Linked DNA regions of Homo sapiens: regions 1 and 3 are each linked to region 2. The links are contacts of gene promoters, found by promoter capture Hi-C in blood cells and fetal thymus (Javierre and others, 2016). All regions are on one chromosome and are shown on one strand. Each heading gives the region's core, a stretch centred on a gene start or on the middle of the fragment in contact. The rest is flanking DNA. Distances are from core to core; before and after follow the strand shown. Region 1 overlaps MYLK-AS1 (MYLK antisense RNA 1). Region 2 holds the start of IQCB1 (IQ motif containing B1). Region 3 holds the start of SEC22A (SEC22 homolog A, vesicle trafficking protein).

Region 1 (2,943 bases), core at 295-2,794, 1.8 Mb after region 2:
CTAAAAATACAAAAATTAGCTGGGTGTGGTGGTGCGCGCCTGTAGTCCCAGCTACTTGGGAGACTGAGGCAAGAGAATCGCTTGGAGTTGGAGGTTGCAGTGAGCCGAGATTGCGCCGCTGCACTCCAGCCTGGTGACAGAGCGAGACTCTGTCTCAAAAAAAAAAAAAAATTTCTCTTCCCCCAGTATCCACCCTTTCCCCTTTAAGTACTGAAGCCCTCAAAATCATCTTTGGAGATAGGCATATACCTGCCTCCCTGGCATGCATCCTTTACTATGGCAAATAAACCTCCTAAAATGATTGAGACTTGCCTTGATCGTGTTCTTTGATTTACAGAGTCAAGGTGGGGGCTGGTTAGATCAGATCTCTCTCAGTCATAATTTTCTCACTGTTACAATTTTTGCAAAAGAAGTTTCAAGACCTCAAGAGATGAAGTGAGAGGCATAAGTTGACAATTGTCAGGGTCCCATCCTTTCCCGCCATGGCAGATTGTTCAGAGATTCTGTTGCCTTGTTTTCCTGAAATTTTTTTTTTTTGGAGACGAAGTCTTGCTCTTGTCCCCCAGACTGGAGTGCAATGGCACACTCTTGGCTCACTGCAACCTCCGCCTCCCAGGTTCAAGCAATTCTCCTGCCTCAGCCTTCCAAGTAGCTGGGATTACAGGTGCCTGCCCCCACGCCCAGCTAATTTTTGTATGTTTAGTAGAGACGGGATTTTGCCATGTTGGCCAGGCTGGTTTCGAACTCGTGACCTCAGGTGATCCACCTGCCTCGGCCTCCCAAAATGCTGGGATTATAGGCATGAACCACCACACCCGACCTTCCTGAATTTTTCAAAGAGCAAGTTGGTGAGCCCAAATTGCACACTGTGATCAGAGGGCAAAAAAATTTCTTTGCAAAAGAAATAAAGAAGTGAACCATTTTACAAAACCAAATAATCATTCATCTAAAAGCTTCTTTCATTCATTTGACTGATTTTTTTTTCAATATAATCTACTTAATGGGAAAGTAGGAGGAGGCAGGAATGCATAAAGTTCTGTTCAGTTGGAAATCAGTTTAAAACTCAATGTATCTTCTTGCAGTCACTTAGGCCCAACTCCAGTCTGTTGTTTATAGCAGCAATCTCCAACCTTTTTGGCACCAGGGACTGGTTTCATGGAAGACAATTTTTCCATGGACTGGGGAGGGAATGGTTTCAGGATGAAACTGTTTCACTTCAGATCAGCAGGCATTAGATGGAGCCTGCAACCTAGATCCCTCGCCTGCATGGTTCATGATAGGGCTCGTGTTCCTATGAGAATCTAATGCCGCTGTTGGTCTGGCAGGAGGTGGAGATCAGGTGGTAATGCTCACTTGCCTGCTGCTCACCTCCTGCTGTGTGGCTGGGTTCCTAACAGGCCATGGACCTGTACCAGTCTGTGGCCCAGAGGTTGGGGACCCCTGCTCTACAGTACAGCCAAAGTGATCTTTTCCACATACAACCTTGTTCGTGTCTACTACCTTCCTCTGCCCCACCCCTGAAGATATTTAAATGGCTTTTGATGACACTTAGGATAAAGCATAAAATATTTAATATGGTATACAAAAATCTGCATAGACTAGACCCTACCTGCCTCCTCAGTCTCACCATGCCCCTCCTAGTCATACTGGCCTCATCTTAGGTCTTCCATCGAGCAGTACTCCTTTTTTGCCTCAGGGAATTTGCACATGCTATTCCAATCATACCTTCCCAACAGTACCCCAAAGTCTTAACTCATTTCAGCATTAACTCAAAAGTCCAAGTTCAAAGTCTGATCTGAGACAAGGCAAGTCTCTTTCACCTACAAGCCTGTAAAATCAAAAACAAGTTAGTTACTTCCAAGATACAATGGGGGTACAGGCATTGGGTAAATGTTCTCATTCCACATGGGAGAAATTGGCCAAAACAAAGGGGCCACAGGCCCCATGCAAGTCTGAAACCTGGTTGGGCAGTCATTAAATATTAAACCTCTTAAATACTCTCCTTTGACTCCATGTCTCACATCCAGTGCATGCTGATTGAAGAGGTGAGCTCCTAAGGCTTTGGGCAGCTCTTGCCATGTGGCTCTGCAGGGTACAGTCCCAAAGGCTGCTTTCATGGGCTGGAGTTGAGTGCCTGAAGCTTTTCCAGGTCCAGGGTGCAAGCTGTTGGTGGATCTACCATTCTGGGGTCTGGAGGACAGTGGCCCTATTCTCAGATCCACTAGGTATTGCCCCAGTGGGGACTCTGTGTGGATGCTCCAACCCCACATTTCCCTTTTGCACTGCACTAGTAGGGGTTCTCCATGAGGGCTCCGCCCATGCAGCAGACTTCTGACTGGACATCCAGTCATTTCCATACATCCTCTGAAATCTAGGCATAGGTTTCTAAACCTCAACTCTTGGCTTCTGCACACTTGCAGGCCCAACACCACATAAAAGCTGCCAGGGCTTGGGGCTTGTACCCTCTGAAGCAATGGCCCAAGCTGTACCTTGGCCCCTTTTAGCCATGAGGTGGAGTGGCTGGGACACAGGGCACCATGTCTTGAGGCTGCACACAGCAGTAGAGCCCTGGGCCTGCCTAGCCCAGGAAACTATTTTTCCCTCCTAGGCCTCTAGGTCTGTGATGGGAGGGGCTGTCCTGAAGATCTCTGAAATTCCCTGGAGACATTTTTCCCCATTGTCTCAGCTATTAACATTCAGCTCCTTGTTACTTGTGCAAATTCCTGCAGCCTGCTTGAATATCTCCCTGGAAAATGGGTCTTTGTTTTCTACTGCATGGTCAGGCTGCAAATTTTCCAAACTTTTATGCTCTGCTTCCCTTTTAAACATAAGTTCCAATTTCAGATCATCTCCTTGTGAACGCATGTGACCGTTTGCTTTCAGAAAAAGCCATGTGACATCTTGAATGCTTTGGTGCTTCGAAGTTTATTCTACCAGATACCC
Region 2 (3,102 bases), core at 151-2,650:
ACTTAAGAATATCAGATATATGTTAAATGCTAAATAGATGACACAGATAAGAATACAGGCCATAAAGTCAGAGGACTGGGCTTCTCTGAACCATTTTTCTTGCTGTAAACAAAATAGCAATTCCTACCTCCTAGAATGATTCTATTTAGAAGAGAAGGCAGCCACCAAGATGGTCTTAAAATGTAGTATAAGTGTAGAGCTGGGCCTTAAATAACCATTTGGAGACCTCTTATCATGCTCCAGGAATTGTTCTAATTGCTTTCATGTATTAACTCATTTAATCATTCCAACAACTCTAAGGAACAGATACTATTATTTTTTTCCCAATTTGAACAATGAGCATACTTAAACTCTGGAGAATGTAATTAGCTGGCACAAAGTCACACTGTTAAGTATAAAGCAGGGGTTCAAACTAGAGCCACCATCTGCCTTAAAGCATTTAACTACGATATGAAACAGCTTCGGCACACCTTCAAAGGGTAGGATTTACACAGACAGGTTGAAGGAGACATAACCACCTACCCCAAAATCAATTGACAAATGTGCCTAAGGCAGAAGGTGAGGGAGTGCAGTTGGATTGCGTAATTACCCTGAAAAACCACCTGTTATGGAAACCATCTGTAAACTTTCTCGAGTGTTTCTCCTATAATTCAACACTTCTCCCATCTTTACATTAAATTCATGAAATTTGACACAAAAAGACAATTATTTATCTATTTTAAGGCTACTACCCTGTTGCCAGGCCACCGGGTCCGGCCCAGCCTTGATTCTTCGGGAATCACTTCTCCCTCGCCGCGCCTGTTACTGCCTCCACGGATCACTGTGAGGAAAATAAATGAAAAGGAAATTCAGTGCGATCCTGTTGCGGCTGATCCTAAATGTCTGCAGTTGCTATCTCCGAATCCTCTTTCTCCTCCCCACTACACATCCCCTTCTCCAGTCCTAGGACCACAAGAAACTTCCTCTGGTACAAAAAGGTCAGAAAACGATTACTGAGGTAACAGCGTCGCTTCAAGTCTAAGGACCGAGATTCTGGGGCCTCTGGGCTCCTTTACTCCAGATTCTAGACCCGGCTTTCGCGCTACCAGGCCTTGGATAAGACACTAGGCCCTGTGCCTGGACACTGCACCTCCCCAGGCCTCAGTTTCCACACCAGATCTCTACAGAGTGGGCGTGAGGGCAGGCCGATTCTCCCGTTAAGAGCTCTTACAAGCCGGCTGACTTCGTCCAGGAGCCTGGGGTCCTGGCCTCCTGGTAGGCGCCCTGGGGCCCTCTCCCTCCCCAGCCACCACCTCAGATAAGTTACCTCATCCTCGCTTCGCGTTCTTCCACTAAAGAACCTGGGGCTCCCACGCCGCACTACAGCGCCGCGGCCTTCCGGGGCAGCGTGCGTCGCGACGCGGGAAGGGGCCTGGAGGCGGGACTAGGAGCCTCGGAGTCAAGGGGCGGAGCGCCCTTTGCTAATAAGCCAATCAGAACGTGAGACGCTCCGGTGGGGCGGTGCGCGTCGAGCGCGGGGTGGAGTCTGGGTGACTTGGCTGGCGGGATCAAGTGCAGCTGCTTCAGGCTGAGGTGGCAGATAGTGAGCGCTGGTGGCGGAGTTAAAGTCAAAGCAGGAGAGTAATTATGAATAGCGCAGCGGGATTCTCACACCTAGACCGTCGCGAGCGGGTTCTCAAGTTAGGGGAGAGTTTCGAGAAGCAGCCGCGCTGCGCCTTCCACACTGTGCGCTGTGAGTGAGGACCATCCGGGGATAGAGGGGGAGCCTCCCGGGATGGGGGTGAAGAGGCACAAACCCCTCTGGGTTTTGTTCCCACAGTACCCCTTACACTGTTGGAGACTACGGGGCGGGGAGGGGGGAGGCAGCGCGATCCTCTAACCTGCTCGGAGTCTTAGGGGGTCGGTGGAAGGAATCGGAGTAGAGCAAATGTGGGTAAACCCTGGACAGAGAGCGTTGAGACCAGCAGACAGGAAGGGAAAGTGTGAAAAAAGTCTGTAGAGGTGACTGTGGAGACAGACGTGACAGGTGGATGATGCAGGGGTGGACAGGAAAATAATAAGGTGACAAATGGGAAGGGACTAAGGACCGAATGCCGGGGAACTTGAATGCCTTGAGGCTGGTGGGGCAATATTCTCTCTTTTCATCACTTTTTCTCACCTCTGGCAGATGAGGGTTCTTATTTGGTGTGTTCTTTGCAAAGGGAGAAATTCTCAACCATCCCAATGATCTGTATATCTCTTTGGACCCCAGATTTCACTCAGTTATCAAATACTGATTATCAAAGTATTCGAGGGTGTGTTATTAATTTCTTTATTTGGAAGATGCTTACCTCCCTATGATTTCTACCCTTTGGTTTTCTTTATGTCCTCTGGAACTAGTTTTAATAAATTATTCTCTTTTATGTTGTTGGAGTAGAAAAAGGAGCTCTTTTGCTTTAGCAGTTGGATGATATAGATTCCAGGAAGGAAAATATAGCATATAAGTTTTTATGTGTAAGACATTCGTTTTTTGCATAACAACTGTCATAGAATTGTAGAGCGGGAAGGAAACTTCAAGATCACTGAATTATAACTTCTCATTTTTCTGTGGTAAAACTGTAAGTATTTTTTCACTTCCTTTCCCCAGCCTTGCCCTTCCTTAATATCTCATCATTCCGCCTTTCTCAGTCATTCTGTTCTCGGGTTGTTTAGAGACCTTTATGGTTTTTACTCTGAAATGTTCCATGGTTCAATCAAAACAACTAATTAAAGCATACATTCTCCCAAAAGTTTATTTAAGTTGTAGACAATTTAGTTATAGTTACTCAAAGTAAAGGTATGAAGAACCACTGGTTTTAACCCTGCAAGAATATATTTACTAAAAGGGTTTTTTTAAAGCAAAATTAACATCCAATTGGTAGAATAAATGGGTGAGATATTTGTGAACAGAAACTCTTCAACAGTGTCCCTTGTTTATTCTTCTTTATCATATACTTTCTCATCCAGAGCTCCCCACGATGAGATGGTGCTGTGCTGGCTCTGCAGTTTCTCTCTCTTCAGTCCCATTTTCCGGAAGTGTGATATGCGTCTTTATCTGGTTTTTCCATGCCTTTTTCTCAAATA
Region 3 (2,998 bases), core at 384-2,883, 1.4 Mb after region 2:
CAGGCTGGTCTCGAACTCCCAACCTCAAGTGATCCACCCCCGCCCCCGGCCTCCCAAAGTGCTGGGATTACAGGCGTGAGCCATCGCGCCTGGTCAGAATATTCTAAAATTTATTTATTTCATGAACATTCTTATACATATGTTTTCTGGTGAATATATGAATACATTTATGTTGAGTATATATCTAGGACAAAATTTATGTTAGTTCAGGCCTTTCTTCTGAACTCTAGACCTACATATCCAAATCTACTTGACATCTCCATTTATAGGCATTTCAAATTTAACATATTCCAAACCATTTGCTCCTCTTTCTGTGTTCCATGAGTCAGTAAATGGCTTCTTAATCCATCTAGTTACTTAAGGAGTCATCCTTAATATTCCTTTTTGTTGACCCTTCCCGGCAAACCAATCCGTTATGAAGTCCCTTGGATACCATTTCTAATTTATACATATCTTGAAATTATCTACCTCTTTCTGTCTCTAACTCCCATTACACTAGTTCAAGCCCCATCATTTCTGGCTTTGCCTGACGCAACTGCCTCCAAATGGCTTTCCAGCAGCCCTTCTTGCCCTTTTCCACACTATTCTCCACAAACAGCCTGAGTGATTCTTAAATATGCAAATAGGATCCTACTTAATAGTCTTTATTAGCTGCCCATTGACCTTGGGCTGAGATGAGACAAGGGCCAGACCATGCTGACTCTTATTGGCCACATTACAGATTTCAGGCTGTATTTTGGAAGATATCTTAAGGTCAACGGGCAAAGTTTCTCCTTGCTCCCTACACTCCATCCACACTGACTCCCTTTTAGTTCCTAGAGCACAAGAAGTTCTTTCATGCCCCGACAACCTCACACAATATTTCCTTGGCGGGGAACATTCTCTAAGGCTCTTCAATATGCCTGCCGCTTAAAAGGCACTTATTCAGAAGTCTTTTCCCTGATAGTCCAAAATTAATTGATCATTGCACCCACTAATTTTCCCTCCCAATACTGACAATTTGTAGTTCTGTAACTATTTATGCTTTAATATCTCTTGCTCCAATTACTCCTTAAATTCCATCAAGTGTTATGTCCACTCCTGTAACCCCGTGCTTAACACGGTGCTTGGCACATGGTAAACAGTCAGGAAATGCCTGTTTAATAATGCATGACCGATGCGAAGGCTGGAAGGGGTCGCAGGGTCAGCATCTGGCACTTCTCTGCCATGGTTAGTTTCCTTCTTGTGTGTGGGAATAGACGGGGCCAGGTCTTCTCCTTGCTCACCCAGAGGGGGCTTTTCTCCCTGTCCCCTTTATAAGTGTCTGCTGTAGGGCCGCGTGTGAGAGACAAAATGCCTGCAGAAACAGGGCGGCGAGCGGAAGAGATTGGCCCTATTTCTGAAGTCAACGTAGTTCTGTCATCAGAGGATGCTGTACTTTTCTGGCGCAGGTGCGAGAGAAGCTGCCAATCTCTCCTGGAGCGGGTGGGACTAAGGAGGGCCCCGGGAGCTGGGGGGTTGTTGTGTCCTTCCTGCAGAACCCGATTGGCCTGGGTGAGCTGAGGGAACGGGGGCGTGGTTTGATTCCGCGGGCGCGAGCCACGTTGGACGCGCCGCAGCGTCGCCGAAAGGTCCCTCCCAGGCCCCACAATGCACTTCGGGGCGCGTCACTCGGAGCGGCGGGTCCCGTCTCGACAGGTACTCCCCGGCCCCTCCCAGTCCTCTTCTTCCTTTCTTAGGGGTCGTTCGAATCCCTGCCGGCCTCTCCCCTCCCGCTCCCTGCCTCTCGCCACAGCCTCGGCCTTCGCCCTCGGGATTGAAGACCTACCCCACGGGCAGGAGCCAAGTCCGTGCCTTTGGGATGGGAGTCGGGGCCGCGGAGCTCTGGAGGGACGGGCAAGCGGGGACCCCGTCCCCTTCGACTTGAGGGTTCTCTGGGGCCAGGCGGGCGGCGGTTGCGCCTCGTCTGAGCCGCCTCGGGTGTTGGGCAGCCAGGAAAGGAGTGTTTGAAGGGGAGGGACAGTCGCACTTGGCTGTCAGCATGGTGGTGGGGATTCCCTGGCGCCCAGGTGTCAGAAACACGGTGATCTACCTGTGTAGGTGGCCCATGAGAGCTTGAGGTGGCATTTCCTATTTCTTTTAGGCAGAATGGGACTTGAACCAGTGTCTTACTTTACGTTTTGTGGGGATGGAGTGAGCCCTGAGCCCAGATATTTGCCCGCGTTGGCTCACGGAAATCTCTTGAGACCCTGTCTCAAGAGTCACTTTGGGAACGATGTGGCAGAAGGGAGACCTGAGCAATTGGCTCGGCAAGTGGAGGAGGCTTCCAAAAGAAAAGGACAAGCCCCAGCTGGCTTGAATCTCTCTGCCAGTGAAGACAGCTTAAGATAATTTTTCCCTGCTGCTTAGTTTCCTGGATCATCCACCTGGGGCAGGGGGCGAGCTTGAGAACCAGTCCCTCCTATGCCTATTCAGCCAAGGCAAAGCCTAGCCCAGAGCAAAAGTATCAGCCACCAGACTGGAGATGTTGGGATCTTCAGTCAGGGGAACAGCCACTTTTCAAACTCTGAATCACTTTCCATGTTACTGATATTTGCTTACATGCTAAGATTGTAAGGAATCAGGCAATGCCTTAAACGGTACCTACAATTTCTGATATATTAAGGTTCATTCAGTATTTGACTCTGACACCTGTGACCATATCCTAAAGTAATGGGACATTCGGGTATTTCCTATGTTGAAAACCATCACATCTGTTTAGTGCCTTTTTTTTTTTTTTTTTTTTTTTTTTTTTTTTTTGCGTGCAACTGGTTAAAATCGAAGTATATCTTATGTTGGTATATGAAAGAGGCCTAGGTCTTATCACAGGGGTGCCTGTGACCTTCCTTGAGTGTCTCACAGAGTTGTTAGAATTGGGCCTGAGTTTAAATCCCTACTTTGTCACCTACTCGTTTAGGGATTAAAAAAAATTCCTCAAGCTTTCTGGGCTTGAATTTCCTCAAAGGTAAAATGGAACTAA

The links. Contacts are between HindIII fragments. The CHiCAGO score rates a contact against its expected background, and 5 or more counts as called.
Region 1: a fragment that was not itself captured here is called in contact with the fragment with the promoter of IQCB1 in region 2 in 1 of 17 cell types (naive CD4 T cells); the score reaches 6.6 in naive CD4 T cells.
Region 3: a contact is called between the fragment with the promoter of SEC22A here and the fragment with the promoter of IQCB1 in region 2, in 5 of 17 cell types (total CD4 T cells, non-activated CD4 T cells, naive CD8 T cells and 2 more). The highest score is 7.5, in total CD4 T cells.

What each region holds. Positions count from the first base shown.
Region 1 is chr3:123,588,575-123,591,517 of GRCh38, forward strand. The region is part of intron 2 of MYLK-AS1 (MYLK antisense RNA 1); the gene reads left to right. Among named protein-coding and RNA genes, the nearest start is that of MYLK-AS1, 4.5 kb to the left of the region's middle. RefSeq lists a silencer at 2,254-2,454. The HindIII fragment of the contact is 1,187 bases long and covers 952-2,138 here.
Region 2 is chr3:121,833,660-121,836,761 of GRCh38, forward strand. It overlaps IQCB1 (IQ motif containing B1), which reads right to left and starts at 1,401. Exons shown (of 15, transcript NM_001023570.4): 1 at 1,307-1,401; 2 at 732-820. EAF2 (ELL associated factor 2) reads left to right here and starts at 1,550. Exons shown (of 6, transcript NM_018456.6): 1 at 1,550-1,732. The coding sequence starts at 1,627. The HindIII fragment of the contact is 9,498 bases long and covers 1-3,102 here.
Region 3 is chr3:123,200,310-123,203,307 of GRCh38, forward strand. It overlaps SEC22A (SEC22 homolog A, vesicle trafficking protein), which reads left to right and starts at 1,634. Exons shown (of 7, transcript NM_012430.5): 1 at 1,634-1,677. RefSeq lists enhancers at 1,191-1,340, 1,351-1,430, 1,671-1,720. The HindIII fragment of the contact is 4,922 bases long and covers 1-2,955 here.